3 separate regions of the Homo sapiens genome follow, and all the other regions are linked to region 3. Evidence: promoter capture Hi-C in 16 types of primary human blood cells and fetal thymus (Javierre and others, 2016). All regions are on one chromosome and are shown on one strand. The core of a region is centred on a gene start or on the middle of the fragment in contact, and the rest is flanking DNA. Distances in the headings are between cores, read along the strand shown.

Evidence for each region. Contacts are between HindIII fragments. The CHiCAGO score rates a contact against its expected background, and 5 or more counts as called.
Region 1: a fragment that was not itself captured here is called in contact with the fragment with the promoter of RAB9B in region 3 in 2 of 17 cell types (fetal thymus and total CD8 T cells); the score reaches 8.1 in fetal thymus.
Region 2: a fragment that was not itself captured here is called in contact with the fragment with the promoter of RAB9B in region 3 in 1 of 17 cell types (naive B cells); the score reaches 6.3 in naive B cells.

What each region holds. Positions count from the first base shown.
Region 1 is chrX:103,215,993-103,220,258 of GRCh38, reverse strand. It overlaps BEX4 (brain expressed X-linked 4), which reads right to left. Exons shown (of 3, transcript NM_001080425.4): 3 at 3,013-4,110. The coding sequence starts at 4,105. The coding sequence ends at 3,743. Among named protein-coding and RNA genes, the nearest start is that of BEX4, 3.0 kb to the right of the region's middle. The HindIII fragment of the contact is 2,684 bases long and covers 1,015-3,698 here.
Region 2 is chrX:103,251,464-103,255,450 of GRCh38, reverse strand. It overlaps TCEAL8 (transcription elongation factor A like 8), which reads left to right and starts at 296. Exons shown (of 3, transcript NM_153333.3): 1 at 296-373; 2 at 774-846; 3 at 1,434-2,456. The coding sequence starts at 1,472. The coding sequence ends at 1,825. RefSeq lists an enhancer at 310-359. The HindIII fragment of the contact is 681 bases long and covers 2,195-2,875 here.
Region 3 is chrX:103,829,440-103,833,558 of GRCh38, reverse strand. It overlaps RAB9B (RAB9B, member RAS oncogene family), which reads left to right and starts at 1,302. Exons shown (of 3, transcript NM_016370.4): 1 at 1,302-1,499. The HindIII fragment of the contact is 1,396 bases long and covers 534-1,929 here.

The sequences.
Region 1 (4,266 bases), core at 1,107-3,606, 610 kb after region 3:
TCTTCCCTCAGAAGATCTACTAGGAGTGTGCCAGTAGATGTCCTGTCCCTCCATGGGAGATGTTCCTCCTGGCTGCATCTAATTGGCCGTCTTACCCCCTCTCCTGGTATTTTATTCTTGTTATATTTGAATTGTTTATTTGTTTTTGCTTTTTTCATTAGAAGTTCAATCTTTTTCTTGCTGGCTGTCCTGGCCTATATGGGCTGCTATAACAAAATATCATAAACTGAGTGGCTTATAACAACAGAAATTTATTTCTCACAATTCTGGATGCTGTGAAGTTCAAGACTGGGTGTTGGTAGATTCCGTGTCTGATGAAGGCCTGCTTCCTGGTTCACAGAAAAGGTGAAGGAGCTCTTTGGGGTCTCTCTCTCTCTTTTTTTTTTTTTTTTTTTTGAGACGGAGTCTTGCTTGCTGTGTCACCAGGCTGGTGCAGTGGCATGATCTCGGCTCACTGCAACCTCTGCCTCCCGGGTTCAAGCGATTCCCCTGCCTCAGCCTCCCCAGTAGCTGGGACTACAGGTGCGCACCACCACGCTTGACTAATTTTTTATATTTTAGTAGAAATGGGGTTTCACCATGTTGGCCAGGATGGTCTCGATCTCCTGACCTCGTGATCTGCCTGCCTCAGCCTCCCAAAGTGTTGGAATTACAGGCGTGAGCCACCACGCCCAGTCTGGGGTCTCTTTTATAAGGGTACTGATCCTATTCATGAGGACTCTGCCTTCATGACCTAATTCCCCCCAAAAAGCGCCACCTTCTAATACCATCACCTTGGGAATTAGGTTTTCAACATTTTAATTTTAGGAGGGACACAAATATTCGGTCCATAACACTGGCCTTTTTAAAGACTTCTTCAGTGATATCTCCAATTTCTGTAATATGAAGACAGCAGCATATGCTGCTGTGTAAGATTAGACTGACTCTCCTCTTCTCAGAGGTCTTGTCAGTCTTTCTCCTCTTAAGTTCTGGAAGATTTGCCAGGCATTAGTTGACAGGCATCCTTCCCAAGCTTTGCTCCAAAATCCATAAAAACATGCACATTTTCCTCAAGAAACTAAAATTTTACAAATATGAATGTATAAACCACTGATAGGGATGAATGTGTTAGCCCTTTTTCTTCACTCTTGGTTTATTTGCTTTTGTTGGTTTTTATAAAAGAGTCATTATACTTTCTTGCTAGTCTCTTTAGAGGCATTCACTGACATCTCTCTGTTGTCACCTTAAAAAGACAAAATGTATTGCCCACCAAGATCAAGGAAAGTTGACCCTCCCATGGGATGTATAAATGTGTTCGCTGTGATAGCTCTGTTCTTCTTCAGTCACCTGATCCAGCCCCCTCTAGCTTTTTCTAGAAAGTTCTCTCTTTACTCCTCCACCCTTGCAGCAACACAGAGGTAAGGGAGTTTTCTTCAGTTCTTCAATCACGCTCCTGATCATGTTCTGGTCACTGAACGTTATGTCCTCTAAAGTTTTGTGCTCGTCGCCTACCATCACAGAAACTCCCACGATAGGAGTCTTAATTTAGTTCTCCTTCAACCAATTACATTGTGACCCCGTTCCCTGACCTTTACCATTTCCAGCAAATTCTGTTCTTATCATCCCACTCTCCCAGAAACACCAAGGAGACAGGGCTCATTTTGGTACTTCAAAAAACCATATTCTGAACCCAAGCATTGACACTTTTATTTCTTCCAGAAAGTCTGTCCTTATTCCTCATTCTCCCCCAAAAACCCCAGTGAGGAGGCTTCAGCTTTCTTTCAACTAATCATGTTCTGATCTCACACCCCCACAGCTAGCTTTTTTTGTGAGGGAGGTAGATTGAGGCTACTTTGGGAAATCCACAATTGGTCTTTGCCAGAAGGCATAGTACTCATTTTCAGAGGAACCAAAAGATCATTCATGGACTCTACTCAGTCAACTAGCCTTTTTGAAGTGCCTGAGTTCACCACTGTGCATTTTCAAATCAGACTCTATATCATCCTCTTCCTCTAGACAGGTGAAAGATCACTCCAGCTCCAAAATTATCTGAGGCAGAGTTTCCCTTAAATGTGGTTCTCAGTTGAACATGCAGGAATTCTGATGACTAAATAGTGTGAAGTTCATATAAAGTGATTTTTGCATAAGTTGTATATGCTTTTCCATTTACACTGATTGGCAATCAGTACATAATGCAAAAATTTCCAAATAATTCTTTGTGGAGGCAATGTGGTGAGAAGACAAGCACCCTGAAGCACCAAGGCTGTGGTCACAGCTTTCACTAATTGGCTGTATGACCTTAGGAAAAATCGCTTTCTTAACAATTCTTCACTTGTGAAACCAAGTTTGCACCAAATAAGTGATTTTCATTCTTTTTTCACTGTGATCTAGTTAGAAATACATCATAAAGGTGGCAATATTTACTACATAGAACACATTATTTTCTCCAAAACAATTCTTAACACTACTCACGGGTGATAGGATGACTTTTGTTCTCTTTTTAAAAAATTGCTTGTTGTAACCCACAAAACTGATTTCAAGAGCCATAGAGTGGCAATCCTAACTTTGAACAACACTAGAGGATCTTACTTTTTTTATCCCTCAATATTCTAAAAATTAAAGTGTACTTGAGATGTAGAAAAACAGTGTATAGAAAAACAGCCCCATTCTTGCTGAGTCTCTTTTACCATCCTCAGCTTGTCATCAAGTTACAAAAGTCAAATATTCTGCATCTCCAGATGATAAGGTCCAATAGAAAATGGCCCAGGCTGGATTCCCCCACCCCCAAGATATTCAGCAGGAGTTAGCCTTGGTACTTAACATCTCTAAGCCCCAGTGACCTCATCTGTAAAAGTGGGATAACAATACAGATTTTATAGGTTGTTCTAAGAATAAAATGAGATCCTGGATGTGAAACTGCTGACAGGGGTGATGAATTCTGAGTTCCTCAGGCTGTGACCTTCAGGCATGTTTTGCTTTGCACAGTGAATAACTTTGCCACTGTCCCTACCACTCCTATAATCATCAGTCTTATTTTAAGGTCTCATACTTTTCTTTTTTAATTACTTGCCCATCAAAGTCAGATTTATCTTGATATTGTTTATTGTTTACGGTTATGACACATTATATATATACACACACACACATATGTATATAGTTACGTACACACACACCAATGGCACTGATTTTGGTACACATCAGAATTACTTAAGAGAGTTTGTTAAAAATGGAGATTCTGGAGCCCCACTCTGTGAGTCTGGACGATAGGTCCTACATTTTTAAATGCCCCTGCCTGCCCCCAAGGTGTTTTTATACAGATGGTAGACTCACTCTGAAAAACACTAGAACATACATTCTTAAAATATCAAACATTGAATTCTGGGTATGATCATTCTTTTTTGGTCAGGGACAAGAAAAAAACTGTCAAAGACAACTGAGATTTTGAGTCCAGGTAGCCGGAGGAGGAAAAGTAATACTTACAAAAATAAGGACTGGAATGAAAAAGGAAGATGATGGAATACAGACTGCTTTTTGAACTGCTTTATGCATTTCATATTATGAAAAGAGTATTTTTCCTAAAATAGGTGAATTGCCATGCTGACCGTAACTTTTAGGCTGAGACAAAACAATATTCAATTAGAATTCTAATTTCCATTAGAAACTGGTAAGTGTAAACCCCAAAAGGCTTACAGAAAAAGTAAATCACAAAAATACAAGCTTGTAAAGCAGTGTTCACATTAACCTCAGCGAAAACTTTTAGGATTCAAGGTATGAGGCAAAAGTCATAATGGTTGTCAGGTTCAGGAGTTTGGAAGCGCATATAGTGCCTCATCTGCTGTTCCCTAGTCTTTCTCTTGATTTCCATCATCTGCCCTACAAACCTTTCTACATCATCTCTCGCTTCATTGTGCTCAATATGCCTATTAGGTATGGCCCATCGAAAATTAGGGACAAGTCGCCTAACTCGCCCCCGCCTGATATTTCCTCCAGGCTTCTGGCCTTCACCCCCTCCCAAATGGCGGGATTCTTCTTCATTCTGCGTGGGGGCCTGCTCCCCTCCTTCGTTTTCTTGTTGGGCATTTTCCCCGTTGAGATTGTTTGCCGCTAGTTCCTCTTTGGACTCCATTACTCCTAGGAGACAAGAGAGAGAAAATGGGCTGAATTCTTGGTGGACTGATAAGCACTGAGGACAGAGGCCCTACTAGGCACCTTTTAAAATTCAGAGCCCTGGACTTGACTTTATACTCTAACATTTCATTTTTTTCCACCTGAGAAGCCAGTATGCCC
Region 2 (3,987 bases), core at 1,286-3,785, 580 kb after region 3:
GAGGGGAGGTGGGAGTATTGGGAGCAGAAGAAAGAGATGATTCCTCAAAGAAGGAGAAATGGTCGATTACCCCTAAAAGGCTGATCCTCCTGGTAATCTGAGAAAGGCGAATAAATACTCCAGGGCGAAGATAACAGTTTATTGTCTCCGATTGGCAAATACGAAAAAAGATTGACAGTATCAAGTGGAGGGAACGCAGCGGGCGGGCTGCAGTGTTAATGGGAGGGGTAACTGGGGACTCGAGCTCAGTGATGACGCGACTCTCACGTGACCAGGAGTCGACGTGTGCAGAAGTCCTTATAGTCCAGGGCCTGTTTCCCTGTAGCAGCTCCTTATTGCTGGAGAAGGAGAAAAGTGCCCAAGATCCTTTCAGGTTAGTATAAACGTGGGCGCTGACTTGGAGACCCTGGGGTCGAGGAGGCCGAGAGCAGAAAGCAAGCGGGGCCGGCACTGCTTTCCCCACTTCTGTTCCGCCAAACTCCCATTTTGTGCAGGAAATTTGGGGCTGTTTGGTGGGGGATGGCGGGTGGAGAGAGAGAAGGGTAGCTAATTAAGGGTCCTGAGAGAGAGACATAGAAACTGTTTGGAAGAAACTTGCTTTTCCTACTCCCTGCTTGCAGAAAAACGGTGGGCACGGAGGAGGGCGGGGTTGCCATAAAAGGAGGGCGAGGATGAGGACATGGGAAACTTTACACCAACATGGCCTAGAATCATGAAAGGGACCCGTGATCCAGGTACTAGTCTGCTCACCAAACACTCCCATCTGTCTGCAGGATATTTGGTTTTTTGGGCGCGACACAAATCGAGGTGAGGGAAGAGAGAGGAAAATCCCCTGAATCCCTGCAGGTCAGTTTTTGTAAAGGTGCAATTGCTTCAGGTCTCTTCGGGTGGGGGTGGAAGTGTGAGTGACACCAAAGCACATCCTGGGGTCGCAGCAGCCCCTCCCCATCCGGATTAAGTGCCAGAGGCCGGTGCCGAGCCTGCAGCGGAAATGAGGCGGGGGAGGAGGAGGCTTAAGAGACGCTGAAGGGGGAGGGGAGGCCAGAGACTGGACCAGCCGTCTCAGGTGAGAGGCTGGAGGTTGAGAGGGCCTGGGAAAGTCTGAAGGGCGGGAGTGTTGGAGACCAGAGGCGGGAGAAGGGTTAATTGCTTCCGTACTGCTCCCATTTCAGTATTAGGAGAGGCTTGTAGCAGGGCCTGCTGGGAAGATGGTGGGCAGGAGCAGGAGGAGAAAGATGGAGCTGGAACGAAAGGGGGCGCGAAGGGAGGTGGAGTCAGGGGAGTTCTGAGCCTGAGGATCCAGCTTTCTCTAGTTGGAAAACTTTTGACAATTAGGGTACTGAGTCAAAAAAGGCCAGTCGCTATGGGACCCCATACTCTGACTGCTGGTCTGTTTGCCTGGAATCTAGTAGTTTTGTTTCCTTGTTTTCTAGGATTAATTTATTCAAAAAGGAAATAAAAAATACTCAATATGCAAAAGTCTTGTGAAGAAAATGAGGGAAAACCACAGAACATGCCAAAGGCCGAGGAAGATCGCCCTTTGGAGGATGTACCACAGGAGGCAGAAGGAAATCCTCAACCTTCCGAAGAAGGCGTAAGCCAGGAAGCAGAAGGAAACCCCAGAGGAGGGCCGAATCAGCCTGGCCAGGGATTTAAAGAGGACACACCCGTTAGGCATTTGGACCCTGAAGAAATGATAAGAGGAGTAGATGAGCTTGAAAGGCTTAGGGAAGAGATAAGAAGAGTAAGAAACAAGTTTGTGATGATGCATTGGAAGCAAAGACATTCACGCAGCCGTCCTTATCCTGTGTGCTTTAGGCCTTGAATTCATTTTTGCCTAATATTAAAATCTGGCCCCAGCTTTCTTTCTGTTAGCATTTTCTGATGTATCTTTGACCTCCATTTTACTTTTAATCATCTGATGAAATTTTGTTTTAGGTAATTTCCTTGGTACCAGCATCTCATTGGATTTTGGATTTTGACCCATTTTCCAGGTCTATTTTTCAATTGGAAACTTTCACACATTTGCATGGGAATATGTTCATTCCATGTTGTAAAGTAAAACATAACAGGTTATGGCAAAGCAGCATATTTAATATCAGCTCACATATGTAGGATAAAATTCCAAACTTTGTGTGTGTGCGTGTGTGTATACATACATCCATATAACATATATCACAAACTTAACCAAGCTTATTTCTGTGTGGTGTGAAATTTTATTTGTTTTCTTCTTTTTGTTCTTTTTGCTTATATGTACTTTTTAATGAACACGTGTCTCACACACAAAAAGAATTAAGGATTTTTTTTACAAGTAAGAGTCAAATAATTTGCAACCAGCTTATGAGGGCAATGGGGGCACCTAAACTCTTGATGAAAGAACTTTAAAAAGAAATGTAAACCTCAAATTACCTCTGGATCTCTTAGCCAGAGGAATAAACTGGCAATTATTACAGATACACACGTTTAAGACTCAGTCTTTTCATGGGGAAAATATTTGCTTCACAGGGCTGCAGTGGGGAAGAAATGAGGCAGTAACAGCTGTGCTCAGTGAGATCTTGTTCCCACCTGTGCATACGGAATCCCAACCCACTATAGAAGCACCAATATTTAAGGGAGGGCCTGGCATGATGCAACTTGTACTCAGGATCAAGTCCAGTAGGCAGAGGTGGGGGCTTACCTATCAGTCCTCTGCTATTGAACCCTGTCTCTTCCCCTGGTTCCTGCCATGCCTGCCCAACACTGCTGCCTCTTCTGCTGAGTGCTGTGCTCCCTGCTGGCCCCACTACTGCTGATGCACTGCAGTCCTTGAGGGCCAAAACCCCACCGAGTTCCCTGGAGTCCTCAGTAGGTTGAACTTTCACTGTCTTCTAAAGCTTCTCTCTGCTTTATAGTGACACTTAACACAGGTGGGACTTCTCTAGGGTTGCTTGGGCCACAAGGTCTTTCAGAGCCCTTAGCAAAATAACCCTTCTGTTTTCAATCACAAGACCCTTCTTCTCCATAGGAGTCAGATGTGATGACTCCATTTGGGATTTGGACTGGGGTATAAGTTTGAGTCAAAGACCTGTTGTAATCACAGTTTTTGCTCTAAGTCTAAGGAATGAGGTTTTGTCCTCGTGGGATGATCTCTTCCTGAAGGCTCCTGGGCAGGCCTGACTTACTGGTTCGGAAGACTGCTGGGGAACATATATAAATTGCACAAAGTGATGCAGGGAACAGATCTAAGGAACAGTCCCCTTAATTCCATCTCTTCTGTTGACCTGTGGTTAAAAAAAACTTTCAAAGTCAGTAAGAACCTTGTAAATGTACTTGAAGTAGAATGCTACTATATAAATGTTAGAGATTATATTTCCCCTGTAGAACAAGCAAAGACTGTCTCTTCCTCTTGGTATCCCACATATGAATACTTGTATGTGTTTAACTGGCACATTGTGTTTTAATATTTAATTGATTTTTTGATTGCTACTAAGAGCTAGTAGGTTTGTCCAAATTAGGTTACTCGCTGAATAATCTACAAGTCTTTAGTTCTCTAGAGTTATGACAAGCAATTCCAAGAAGAAACAGGGCAGAGAATTGATTGTACTCTAAATGTTTTATTATAAAAGTATCTCACATAATCACCTGCATCAGAATCTGCTGGGGAGCATCTTGAAAATGCTGATGTCTGGGCCCCACATAAGGCCCACTGACCCACATTCTGGAGGTAGACTGTAAAATTATAGCTTGCAAACTCCTCCAGGTGATAATGATATGGACTGAAGAATGAGAACCACTAGTAATACAGTATGCTTTTCATTATTACAAATATTAACTATAAAATAATTGGCAGGAAATCTTGGTGAGTGCTTACTGACATTCAGGAAATAGAAGGCCTATACAAGCATTTATTGTTTTAAGTATGAATTTTTAAAGGAAAAGATGGACACATCTATACATAAAATTTAAAAGGTTCGTGTTAACAAAGACAAGATAAAAAGCTAGGGGGAG
Region 3 (4,119 bases), core at 53-2,552:
AATAGGAGCACATGAGATTCAGTTACATCAATTTATTTTATTTAAATATAACAACTATTAGTGATACAGCATTCATTCATATTCAGCAAATATTTTCTGAGCATGTCCTATGCAGCAAGCATTGCCCTAGGCTCTGTGCATACGGTGGTGAACACAAACGTTGTCCTTGACCTCATAGTCCTTCCCCACTATAGTTTAGTAGGGAAGACAGCTGTCAACCAAATAATCATACACTTAAATGTACCACCAAAAATGGGTAAGTGTTATGAAGGAAAAATACAGCAAGTTACAGGAGGCTACAAGAGTATAAACTGGGGCACCATCTCTATTCTGAGATTATCGAGAAAGGTTATCCTGAGAAGTGACATTTAAGCTGGGGCCTGCGGAGATTGATTGCACGATTGCCTTGTCAAGAGACAGAGGAAGAGTGGCCTAGATGGAAGTAGCGGGTATGTGTGAGGGCCTGGACGGGGTCATGAGATGAGTGAGGGCCTGTGCCACAAGGTCACAGGGTTTCGGGCAATGGGGAAGCTTCAGAGATGGAGCTGCCTGACAGAGAGGTGGAGTGCAGGCTAAATGACCTCAGGAGCTTTGTCCTTCTTCAATTCCAGGGGGAAAATCACAAACTAGTTGGAAGTACCAGAGGGCTACAGAAAACAACAAAAAGAGACTAGCTGGTCGGCTAGGCACAATTAAAACATCAAATTCTGCCCCAGCAGCAATTCCGGGAAATTCAAGTAATGCCCCCTGTGTGGCCCTCTAGAACTGTATCTGGTAAGAGTAAAGGGCAGTGTGTCCTCTATGCCTGCGCTACAGATGTGGACATTTTTTTTAATTGCCTGAAAATTTCATAAGCTGTAGCCAGTTAGAGGGCCTAGCAATGTGTTGTGATCATGTGTTTTCCTGAGTTATTTGAAACAAGAGGGTGTATGTACTACCCTCTTGGCAAAATTAAAGGATTTTGAGCTAGGATAAATGAGGTAGATCAGAGGATAATTGCAGGAAGTGGGGCAGTGGCTAGCCCTGCTTGAGGGCTTAGGCCCAGGCTGCAGAGGAGCTAAGTGGAAGAGCAATATTTGACGGTCTATTGCCGCTGTGCCTACTAATCGGCTAGGGGAGGAGAAGGAGGACAAGGGAGACCAGGGTTGGACGATGAGCATGAAAGAAGAGTGGGCGAGCCAGGGAGCGCTTGCCACATGGAGGGCGGGAGGCGGCTACACCGGGTCCCCACCGCCGAGAAAGGGGCACGAGGAGGCGGCGCGGGCCCCGCCCCCTCCCCTGGCGGGCGCGGGCGCGGGCTCGAGACGCTGCGCGGCGGCAGCGGCGGGCGCGAGCGGCAGCTGTCAGGCCACCGAGGTCCAAGCCGCACTTGCTGCCCCATTGAGGACGAGGAGGCAGCAGGAGCAGTGACGGTGACTCTAAGGAGCCGGATTCCCGGCACGCAGAGCTGACCTGCCTGGCACCCGCGGCCCTCTCCTGTTTCCTTCCCATTGTGTTGGGTAAGGTGCCTGTGCGTGGGCAGGAACAGGGGCTAGGGGCTGGAGGACCCGGAAGGCCGGGAGGTGGGGGGCCTGTGAGAAGAGGGAGAAAGGAAAGTCTAGTTGATCCCCAGGACCACTCGTAGCTTGAGAAAAGGGACTGAGCCGCTCCCGAGGTCGGAGTCGGGGGCAGGTGACAGTGCAGGGGGGCGTTGCTGAGTAATCCCGAGCTGCTGCCAGAGCCGAGCAGAGAGGCGCAGGGCTCCGTGGGGAGCGGGTGTGGCTCAGTGCGCATGCGCCACAGCCGACTAGCTCTAAGAGCTGGGGGTGAGGTGAGAGGACCTGGGTCGGAGGTAGTTGGGACTATGTGTGACATCTCACTTTCTAGGTCCGTAATGCTAACAGTGCCCCTGTCGTAGAGATGCCAGCATTCTTGTCTCCCAAGGAAGCTTTTTTTCCTTGTGTTCAGCTCGCTTGATGTCATCCAAACCTTATCTACCTATCTGTCCCTGGGCAGTCTACTGAGGAAGAAGTGTCCTGGGGACGATGCCAGATTGCTATCTAGTGTGCCTTTGGGCTTATAGCCCTAGAGCTGTCGTTGTGAGCAGTGAAAGGTTAGATGTGGGACTCCACATTGGACCCTTTGAGTTGCATATAGGATATAAATGTGGGCATGAATGTAGGAATAGCGTTTCAGTGGCATGACAGCTGTGGCATTTGGAGTCGGCATGGATGTAGCTGATAACTTGTTAGCTCTGCAAAATGAATCCAGTGCGTCAGAGGGTTTCCGCGCTACGAAGCACCCACCACCAGCACCAACGCCAAGTATTGGGTTGTATTGGAAACACACTCAAACATTCAATCATTTCTCATCCGTGTTGAATTTTACATAAATATAGCCGCGCCCAATTCTTCAGTGCAATATTTCCAATTATTGTGCCAGCATTCAACAGTGAGTTGAGTAGCCCTTACCAGTGTGTCGCCACAAGATGGGCTTTCCCCACAGGTCCAACCATGGCTCCTCCCCTGTACAGACTTCCAACAGTGCCACTCTCATCCAGTGCCTAGCCCTCCCCAGTTGCTCTTCCCCTATCGATCCCTGCAGTACACATCCCTTTCAAGACTTGCCTCCGAGCAATCTGCACTACTGATTTTGAGCATCATTCCACTCCATGGCAACTGAACTGATGCGAATTTGCTTTTCTGCCTCTCTTCTCTCCATCATCATACTAAAATGTACTATTTTCAAAGGTTCAACTTCTTTTTCTTCATTGTACTGCCTCCTCCCCCACCTCCACTCCCACCTCTAAGCATTCCCAACTAAATACAATAATTTGAATAAGGCTTTGTGGGTACTGCAGATTCAGAAGGTTTCAAGTGTGTTAAAGAACAAAGAGCTGGGGAGTATTGGTTATGGAAATTCCTAATTCACCTTACTCTCCAAGACTGAGACCCTGATGGGAAAAAAAAAAGTTAGTAAACTATCCTTAGAGCATGCTCATTAATGAGTTTGTGGGGGTAGGAAAGGGGAATTGCGTCTCTCGAATATTTTACTCAGTTAGAGTCAGATCTTTCTCTGAATGGGATCAAAATCAGAATAAGCGTTTTGGTCCAAATGCTCGCCCGACAGAGGACCCATAAGGGATGCATACGTCATTTGACTTTCCTATTTACGTATTTAGTGTTATCAAAGAATTCATTTGCCTGCTTAATGTTACCTTGTTTAAAGGTTTGGATTAAATCCGGCATATTCTGGGGGAGGAAAAAATGATTTCATTTGCTTTTACACTGTGCTAGTTCTTTTTAATTTAAGTATGTACTAAAGGACATGACATTCATTTTCAAACAATGATAAATGATTGTGGAGAGGCCAGCACCCACCGACAACATCAACTGGATATCATTATTCTGCTCTTGTTTTGGGTAGGAATGGGGAAATGTATATACTTATTTTTAAAATGTGAGAGTAGGGGGAGGAAAACTGGAGCATTTCCCTTGACTTTCAACAGGTGGAATTCCCATTACTCCCCATCCAGAAAATGATCGAGTCAAGTTCATAACTTCTGCTCTTTAGTTACCTTATAAATAATAGTATTTTGGCATCTTACAGAACTATGGATCTATTGTACCTTGGCATCAATTCAGAGGCATTAATTCTGGGCACCTACCTAATCATTTAATTGGTAAACAAATATTTATTATCTCCATGGAGGATCCTGGTGCTGCACACTGAAGGGGCTTCAAAGATGTATACAGTGAGCTTACTATCTAGGAATTTAAAATTGATCATGTAAGAAAGACAGGAAAAGTTTGTTAACAAAATAAGTCAGTATAATGACATTATTTCAACTGTAAACAATGAGATCCTGAGCTTGCATGTTAATTTGTAAACTCCCTGAGGGCAAGACCTTGCCTTAAACATTTATTAATTCCCAACAGTATCTACATCCAATGGATGTTTGAGTGATGAAGCTTTGCAAAGTAGATTGAGTGGGGAGACACCAGAAGCAGGGAGAGAAGAACTTTCACAATAGATTAGATGTGAGAAATTGTGGGCCAAAATGAGGATGGTAGCACAGGACTAGAAAATGATACTTCAAGGGAAAATCAGCAGGATTGAATGAAGGCAAGGAGACAAATC